Linked DNA regions of Homo sapiens: all the other regions are linked to region 1. The links are contacts of gene promoters, found by promoter capture Hi-C in blood cells and fetal thymus (Javierre and others, 2016). All regions are on one chromosome and are shown on one strand. The core of a region is centred on a gene start or on the middle of the fragment in contact, and the rest is flanking DNA. Distances in the headings are between cores, read along the strand shown. Region 1 holds the start of CHAC2 (ChaC glutathione specific gamma-glutamylcyclotransferase 2). Region 2 holds the start of MTIF2 (mitochondrial translational initiation factor 2). Region 3 holds the start of RPS27A (ribosomal protein S27a).

Region 1 (2,954 bases), core at 224-2,723:
AAACTTCCGAAGTGTTGGGATCAGAGGCGTGAGCTACCGGGCCCAGCCAAAACTGACAACTCAGAAGCCATTTAATTTAGCTTAGTTCTTTAATGTCTTGAATATTGTTCTAGAACATTCTTGGAGATACTTTGGCCATGACATTTCTGTTGATCTGTAAATGTGCATTTATCCTAAGCCATTGCCCCTTTTCAGGTCACTGTGTCCAACATCCCAATAGGCCAGTATAGTCTACTTAAAAGCCAAGTTCTTAACTGACCAACTCTAGTTGAGATAGAATGGTTTCTAATTCAGGTTCTTTTCGTGATTTTAATCCCATGTCTCTCTTATGAGCAGGTGCAAACTACTTTAGCGCCTTGATCTTTTCCACTTTCCATTGACCAATTTCCAAATTATTAGTTACCTCAATCTTAGTTTTCTTTATGGATTAGTTGTTTTGTAGCCAGTACAAAGCTGATTTGCATAAGCAGTGAGCTGCTGCTAATTCTCTATACATATATTGAGATTAATGTCTTTGTAGGACTGACTGAAAAGTGAATCAATGAACTTACATTTCATATTATAATTATGAGAACCATCAAGAAAGTAACATTAAAATAATGCTGGATATAGTAATGAGTTTGGTACTATGTTATTCATATAACCAGAACTTCATTTAACTTCACTAGTACTGAAAACCAAAGTGAGTTCCTTAATAACCAGCGAAAATTTTGGAAACTCATTCTGCAATCCTGTGTGTCAGAAAATAAAACTTTTGAAAGATGTAAAGAAATCCTAGAAGTAACATGCACGTTTAATCGCAAGCTCATGAAAGTCGGCTAGAATGCAGAAATGCCAACAAATTTAATTGCTAAAAAGCTGAATTTGCAACTTGATTTACTATTTCAACTCTGTGGTGACATGAGCATTCATCTTCCCGCCAATGGGACTTTTTTTCTTTTGGCAGAGGTTGCAGAGAGATGGAGTCCCCATCTCCGCACTCAGCCTGGTGCGAGCTCGTGCGCCTGTGCCCGCGCTTCTCGCCGTCTCTAGAGACTAACCACCGGCATCTTAAGCAGCTTCGGAAGGAGTGCCCGGGCTGGGTTAGAGATGGCGGGCAGGTGGCAGGGAAAATCTACAGAAATGTTACCCCAAGCCATGTGCTTTGGCCCCATGAAGCGCTAAGGTGTGGTTCTCTAGGGTGTGGGTGCTGTGTGTGGAGTTGGGGAGCAGGGGTCAGGGGGCAGTAAGTGTGGGGAGCTGACCGGCGCCTCACCTTGCCGGGGACCCCGCGGTGGTCCGTGCTGCCCTGCCAGAAGCGCCTGCTGTAGTTGGTGATGTATCCGACCAGCTTGTCCTGATAGGGGAAATCCACCTTCCAGATCAGGGACCCGTAACCAAAAACCCACATCTTCTCGCGGCTCCTCTGCCCCAGTGGCCGTGAACCCTAGCTGTCGCCGCGCCGCCGGGGACTGAAGCCTCCGGTAAGCGAGTAACCGGCCGCGCGGGGCGCAGGCGCGATGGCCACTTGGGGCGCAAAGCGCACTGGGAGTTTAGATCCAGAAAGATTTTCCGAGCGGATCTCAGTCAGCTTTATTTTATTTCCTTGATTAGGGTGTCAAGAGGCATTGACCTTCGGTGTAGTAAGCAATGGATTCTTTTGCAGCATCCGTAAATCACCCTAACCTACCTTTAGTGCCCGTGTGCAGAAAACTACAATACCCACAATGCTTTTTGGAGCTATTTGGCTCTGAAATTGGAACTGGGCTTATTTCTAACGGGGCCGAGGAAGGAGAAAAGAGCAGGAGTCGTCACTCGTGTCCAGATACGGAGGCGGTGTACCAGCACCGCAGGTAGCAAAGCACCTAGAAACACGTTTTGTTCTGCTTTGGAAATTAGATTTTTGCCTATATAACAGCAGCCAGAGGAATGTAATTCATATTTGATTTTATGTCCTGAAAAAAAAGTCTTTTGCCTTTCAAATAAAAGCAGAAAGTTTACAATAGAAGTTTACGCTTGTGAAAGAGTAGCTGTCATTTCAATGGGAATTGTTTATATATTTAAATTTTACACAAATTTATTCATCTTTAGTATTATCATTGGCTTGTTCACAAAAGAGCAGGCAAATGTTCTTAACTTGGGGCCCCTGTAAAGGCTTTGGAAACGAGCTGGGGAACCTGAATTTGTATACAAAATTTGGGGTGTACACTTTTCTAGGGGGAAACTACAGCTTTCATGAGTTTCTCCAAGGGGTCAAGGATCCTAAAATTTTTTGAAGATCTGCTCATTAGAGCTCTTGCTGCAAAATATTGTTTAGGAAATTCGCTTGGACTATCATGGCTGTGTCTCTGTGTGTGAAAACAGAAACCTTACCAAGTGATTGTTCTTTCTTGAAGATTTTTATACCATGATCTTGAATGCTAAAACACTCAGATTCAAGGGGTATTATTTGTTTTCTTATAAAGAAATCAGCAGGAAGCTGCTACCAGACAAACAAACAAAAAAAAAAGCAAGTCTTTTCCTATTTTCTCTAAGTTGTGGTTTCAAATTGCCTGATATGGTTGCTAACCCTTCTTTTTTGAAAAATTTTGAATACACAGAAAACTCAGATAAAAAGAGTGTAATGACCAATACCTTTCATCTAGATCCAGTAATTACCATTTTGCACAGTTGCTGTACTTCCTTTTTACTTTATTTATACTTTTAAATGGAGAACATTTGAAGTTGCTTGTGTTATGACATTTTACTGCCACATACTCTACATGTGTCTCATAAGAATAAGGACATTCATCCTAGAACAAGTTCCCTAAAAAAAAAGAATAAGGGCATTCTCCTAATAACTGTGATGCCATTATCACATCTGAGAAAATTAACAATAGTTATGTAATCAAATAAGTATTCCATATCCAAACTGCTTCATAGAGTCACTAACAAGAAATTGTGTCTTCGAGAGAGTCACATGAGAGCTATACTGG
Region 2 (2,954 bases), core at 221-2,720, 1.5 Mb before region 1:
GATCGTGCCATTGCACTCCGGCCTGGGCAACAAGAGCGAAACTCCATCTCAAAAACAAATAGAAACAAAAACACAACAAAAACCTTATTACAATCCTGTGAACTAGCTACTGTCATTACTATAATGTAGATGAACAAACTGGGACATGGACAGTTGACAAAACATTCCCAACCACACACTAGGAATGAGCTGGGATAGGAAACCAGGCACTCTGGCTCTATTACTCCTAATGCCATACACACGAGCTGACTTAGGAGAAAACAGAAAGTACTGTTCGCACAATACTAACTGGTTCTACCGCCACTGTTCGCTTGCATTTGTTTTTTCCTTCTTGTTAGGAACACGTATCTTTGAAGGAGGTATCATTTCTCCCACAATTCTCCATTTAACGTTTCCTACAGTGTTAAGCACCACCGAGGCCTCTCATAGCCCCAGAGAAGAAGTAATTTGCTTCCTAGAAATCCTCACTGTATCCAGATTCCCTCCCAGAGGAGCCATCAGTTCTCATGGGTGGCACTTTTTCTCCAGCTGATTACACTTTTTTTCTGTACCAGTTAATTTTTCCAACTTCTAATTGAATAAAGGCAGTTTTCTTAAAAAAAAAAAAAAGAGAAAGAAAAACGGAAAGGAAGGAAGAGGAAAGGAAGGAAGAAATGAAGAAAGGAAGGAAGGAAAGAAAGGAGAGGGACAGAAAGAAAAAAAGGAAAGAGAGAAAGAAAGGAAAGGAAAGTAAGAAATGGAAGGGACCTGCAGAAACGATTCACCACGCGCGGCTGACCCTGGGAGGAGCCACAGGTTGAACCAGCGCCTCCCAGGCTGGACGCCCGCCGCGGACACCGCAGACAGTCCCACCCCCAGCGGCGACAGCAACTCTCTGAATTCCGGAAAGAACCTTTTCCAGCGGGACCGGAAGCCCGGCGGGGACCGTAGCGGGGACGGACTGACCTACCGACCATTCTTCCGGGTCCAGAAGGTGATCTCCGCCCGTGCTCAGAATCCAGGGGCCCGGGGCTGTAGGTAGGAGTTAAGTGGGTAGGATCCCTTAACCAGGGTTGTCCGGTGCAGGTGGTGTGTGTTGTTTCGCCTAACGTGTCAGTGGCACAAATCACGCGAACTTCATAAACATTGTGCGTTCGGAAGCCTTTCCAAGATGCATTTAATCCCTGCGTGAGCCCACGTTAGGCATTCACGAAGGCATGTGCACTGTTCTCTCGGAAGCGGCTGGCCGGCTTCCCCTCCTCGCGCGCGGCTGTGGGTGCAGGTCCTCACTTCCCAGCCTCCCATGGGCCCAAGGCCTTCTGGGCTCCAATTTGAGGCGAGCCACCCCAGATCCGTAATTTTTCTGCAGTGATTTATTTTTACCTTTCTGGTAAGTTCCAAAGCTTCCAGCTCACATTCAGACGTTTTCCCTAACGCAACTACGTATTTGCAACATACTTTTTTCAGATTCCTTGACAAGGATATCCTAGCGGCGAAACAACACCGTACTGGGAGTCAGAACGTCTGGGTTCTAGTCTTGACTGCCATTAACTAGCGGTATGACATTGGAGAAGCTTTTTTGACCCTTCTGGATTTCCGTTTCCTTTTCTGTAAAATGAGGAGCTTGGAGTAAGTGACAAGTTTCCTTCCAGTTTTGACATTTGGGTTATTGCCTCCAATGTGTCTTTCCAGTTCCTGCCTCAATTACATATCTGTGCTTTGGTTAATATCTCGTAGGGTCCTTCCTCCCACTCCATTAATCTGTGCTCTTCTCAAATCTGGTTTCATACTGATTTAAAAATTATTTTCTCAAGGAATCCTGTGTTACCTGAGCACTCTACTTCTTGGTCCAGGGGCACAAACGTAAATAAGATATTTTCCATGTGCCATTCTTAGAAGTATTTAATGTGTGTAAATACTATTGAATGAATTTCCAAATCTTCTTTTTTTTTTCTTTAGACAGAGTCTCACTGTCGCCCAGGCTGGAGTGCAGTGGCCTGATCTCGGCTCACTGCAGTCTCTGCCTCCTGGGTTCAAGCGATTCTCCTGCCTCAGCCTCCCAAGTCGCTGGGATTACAGGCGCCCGCCACCGTACCCGGCTAATTTTTGTACTTTTAGTAGAGAGGGGGTTTCACCATGTTGGCCAGGCTGGTCTCGAACTCCTGACCTCAGGTGATCCGCCCGCCTCGACCTCCCAAAGTGCTAGGATTACAGGCATGAGCCATCACGCCCAGCCTGAATTTCTAAATCTTAATGTGTTTATTTCGTTGGCATTAAGTTAGATTTTTCCTTGATCTTTACTCGAATAAGCCTTTTAAGGTAAAATGCTTGCTCGATTACACACACATACACAACCTCATAATTGTCCGAAGGTAAACAAGTTAATGACTTGTGAATATTTTTAACTTATAAGCAATGAATCCTCAAAGCTTATAAGCGAGTATCAAGACATGTGATATGGTTTTAAAATAGCTGATGATAAAGTATATACATCATCTCATTTTCTCCTCTTAGTCTTGTAATAGGAAGGACAGATATTCAAACACTTATTTATTTATTTATTTTTAACAGAGATCCGGAAAATGAGGCCCATAGGAAACAAGTGACTTGCTGAGTCCAGATAACACTGACTGTCAGAGTGAGTGTCCACCTAAGGTTCCTTTGTTGCCTAATAAGATACTTTCTTTGCTATACTGTACTTGTTTCTGTTATCATTTCTTTTCTTTCTTTTAAAAAATATTCAGTATAGGCCAGGCGCGGTGGCTCACGCCTGTAATCCCAGCACTTTGGGAGGCCAAGGCGGATAGATCACCTGAGGTCAGGAGTTCAAGACCAGCCTGGCCAACACGGTGAAACCCCGTCTCTACTAAAAATACAAAATAATTAGCCGGGTGTGCTGGCAGGCACCTGTAATCCCAGCGACTTGGGAGGCTGAGGCAGGAGAATCCCCTGAACCCAGCAGGTGGAGGTTGTAG
Region 3 (2,954 bases), core at 455-2,954, 1.5 Mb before region 1:
CATGTCTTTTATTAACTCATACAGTTACTTGTCTTCTGGTTTGTTGAAACAGTAAGTCAGACAACATTTGCCACAATAATGTCTGTCAAAGTGACTTGCCATAAACACCCCAGCACCACATTCATCAGAAGGGCACTCTCGACGAAGGCGACTAATTTTGCCATTCTCATCCACCTGAAAAGCACAAACCTGCTGTTAAGATAATTTTACAACACATTCTGAAGTCTAATTTAAGTGACTCAAAATATTTAAGCTTTTAACTGTGTAATACTGGTGGTTTTGGTGCTTACAAACCAAAGCACCCTAAATTCTCACCAGTTATCATTGCTACAATGAAAACATTCAGAAGTCTTGGGACTTTTGAACACTAAAGGCCAGCTTTGCAAGTGGTAGACAAAGGTAAAGACCTGAACCCAAACCCGACTTTAAACTCAGAACCCTATTACATAACTGATTTCAAATACCAAACAGGAAAAACCCCAGAAAGTCTGAATTTCTCATTTCCAGAATACCTCATTTAAACCAAAGTGGGATAATATTGGGTGTTTAAGTCCAAGAAAATATTGACAAGTACTATAAAGATTAAGTTTTCCAAATAAGCCAAGACTTTGCTGACATTCTGCCCTTTAACTGGCTCACCTTATAATATTTCAGGACAGCCAGCTTAACCTTCTTTCTCTTGTGCTTATTCTTCTTGGGAGTGGTGTAAGACTTCTTCTTCCTTTTCTTAGCACCACCACGAAGTCTCAACACAAGATGAAGAGTAGACTCCTGTTAATGGAAGAATGAAGCAAGCTTTCATGATTCCACTAAGAATGGGCACACCCAACATTATGCATTTTCTAATTAAAAGCAGTAGCAGCACACAATAACATTTGAGGGAATCTTGCAGCCCCCAAACCCAATAAAGTATCAGATTCTTAACTGACAGTTTATAGGGACATTAAAGAATGCATTACATTACACCATGGGATACAACTTGCAAAATTCATAATGGGAGAACTATAGCAGTGCTTCTCAAGTATCAGTATAGGAGTTACCTAAAAATCTACTGCTATTCGAATGCCATTTTCCCTTTTTGTGTGTCAAAATGTCCAGAATACACCACATGGAGTGGCTCACGTCTGTAATCCCAGCGCTGGGAGGCCACGGTGGGAAGATCACTTATGCCCAGGAGTTTGAGACCAGCCTGGGCATGGTGGCGGGTGCCTATAGTTCCAACTACAGGAGGCTGAGGTGGGAGGACCACCTGAGTCTGAGAGGTGGAGGTTGCAGTGACTGCGCCACTCACTCCACCCTAGGTGACAGAGTCAGAGCCTGTCTCAAAAAAAGTAAAATAAAAAATTTCCAAAATAACATTTTTTTTTTAAAAGAGGCTGCTCTTCCCCTAGACAGACCTTTTGAATATTGTAGTCAGACAAAGTACGTCCATCTTCCAGCTGCTTGCCAGCAAAGATCAGTCTCTGCTGATCAGGAGGAATTCCTAATGACAAAAAACAAAAATTAAGTCACAGCACACCAAGCCTGTGATGTGCTCCAGACTTATAAGGTAACACCCCTTAATCAAATACATGATACTAAAGGCTGACAATAAGCCCTTACTAGAGGTTAGGCATGGTTCTAAATCTTTACATGTCACATTTTACCGCATTTAATATTAGGGACAATACTTGGTTGTCTGCAGTGGCTGACACCTGTAATACCAATACTTTGGGAGGTCGAGGTGGGCAGATCACTTGATGTGAAAAGTTCAAAACCAGCCTGGCCAACAAGGTAAAACCCAGTCTCTACTAAAAATACAATAAATTAGCCAGGCATGGTGGTGCACGCCTGTAATCCCCACTAATAGGGAGGCTGAAGCACAAAAATCACTTGAACCCGGGAGGCGGAGGCTGCAGTAAGCCGGGACAAGCGAATGCACTCCAGCCTGGGCGACAGAGGAGACTCCATCTCACACAAAATAAATAAATAAGTGTCCAAATTCACGCAAGTGAAATACACCTCAAGGATTCCAATCTAGGTACTGTGCTCCCCGATCACCAATGTCTATTGTGTTATTCCACAAGTATTTCGCTTTGTCAATCTGACCCCTTCCCCCATCACCAAGAGCAGGTATGTCTAGCACCTACAGGTAGGCCGAAGTCTCCGCAGGTTAAGTTTTCTTAACTACAAAATACTACTTGCCTTCCTTATCCTGGATCTTGGCCTTTACATTTTCTATCGTATCCGAGGGTTCAACCTATGAGTGTTAAAGTGAAAGCATGTTGGTTACACATTAAGGAACTACAGCAGAACTCATTTAGTTTGACAATTACCACTGAACCGAACCAGCGACAGGGCTGAGACCTACTCGAGAGACCTATTACCCACCCAGTGGGCAACCTCCCAAGTCGGCTACCGGAAAGCACCTTCATCTCCCCAGCCCAGAGCGGGCGGCGGCCGCAGGGCCACACGTGCTCGCACCCGGCGGGCAGAGCGTCTCCTTCCCCACCGCAGCTCCTCCGTTTTAACTAACTAGCTGGAACCCCTCGAGAGGAGACAGGTCCAGCCTTTGGCCACCGAAAATCACCTCTAGGTCGTTGCTCAGCAAAAGGTACTCATTTCAAAGCTTAAGTTTTAGAACCCAAATTCGGAATCATGGTCTAAGACATGGAAAGCAGCGCCGGTCCTAAAATCCACCTCAGGACCTTATTCGGACCTTGGCTTCCTCATGACCACCCGGCCCGTACCTCGAGGGTGATGGTCTTCCCCGTAAGGGTTTTCACGAAAATCTGCATTTTGGTGGCGGCTCCACCTGAGGTTGAGGAAAAGGAAGAGACAGGTTAGGTCAGGGATCACAAGAGAAGGCACCATAGGGTGCTAACCCGAGAGCAGCCGAAGTGCAGACACCCACCGCAGATGGCGGATCGAAAAGGAAGAACGCCGCGCAGGCCCACGGGGTTTCCCGGAGCTCC

Evidence for each region. Contacts are between HindIII fragments. The CHiCAGO score rates a contact against its expected background, and 5 or more counts as called.
Region 2: a contact is called between a fragment that was not itself captured here and the fragment with the promoter of CHAC2 in region 1, in 2 of 17 cell types (total B cells and naive CD4 T cells). The highest score is 7.5, in total B cells.
Region 3: a fragment that was not itself captured here is called in contact with the fragment with the promoter of CHAC2 in region 1 in 1 of 17 cell types (non-activated CD4 T cells); the score reaches 6.2 in non-activated CD4 T cells.

What each region holds. Positions count from the first base shown.
Region 1 is chr2:53,766,323-53,769,276 of GRCh38, reverse strand. CHAC2 (ChaC glutathione specific gamma-glutamylcyclotransferase 2) reads right to left here and starts at 1,473. Exons shown (of 3, transcript NM_001008708.4): 1 at 1,256-1,473. The coding sequence starts at 1,390. The region is part of intron 1 of ASB3 (ankyrin repeat and SOCS box containing 3); the gene reads left to right. All of the region lies in intron 1 of GPR75-ASB3 (GPR75-ASB3 readthrough), which reads left to right. RefSeq lists enhancers at 942-1,131, 1,152-1,501. The HindIII fragment of the contact is 6,206 bases long and covers 1-2,954 here.
Region 2 is chr2:55,267,232-55,270,185 of GRCh38, reverse strand. MTIF2 (mitochondrial translational initiation factor 2) reads left to right here and starts at 955. Exons shown (of 16, transcript NM_002453.3): 1 at 955-1,017; 2 at 1,447-1,608; 3 at 2,551-2,617. RefSeq lists enhancers at 94-917, 863-1,012. The HindIII fragment of the contact is 171 bases long and covers 1,385-1,555 here.
Region 3 is chr2:55,232,648-55,235,601 of GRCh38, reverse strand. It overlaps RPS27A (ribosomal protein S27a), which reads right to left and starts at 2,914. Exons shown (of 6, transcript NM_002954.6): 1 at 2,894-2,914; 2 at 2,730-2,794; 3 at 2,185-2,239; 4 at 1,398-1,483; 5 at 640-771; 6 at 1-174. The coding sequence starts at 2,777. The coding sequence ends at 25. RefSeq lists enhancers at 2,635-2,814, 2,835-2,954. The HindIII fragment of the contact is 1,813 bases long and covers 798-2,610 here.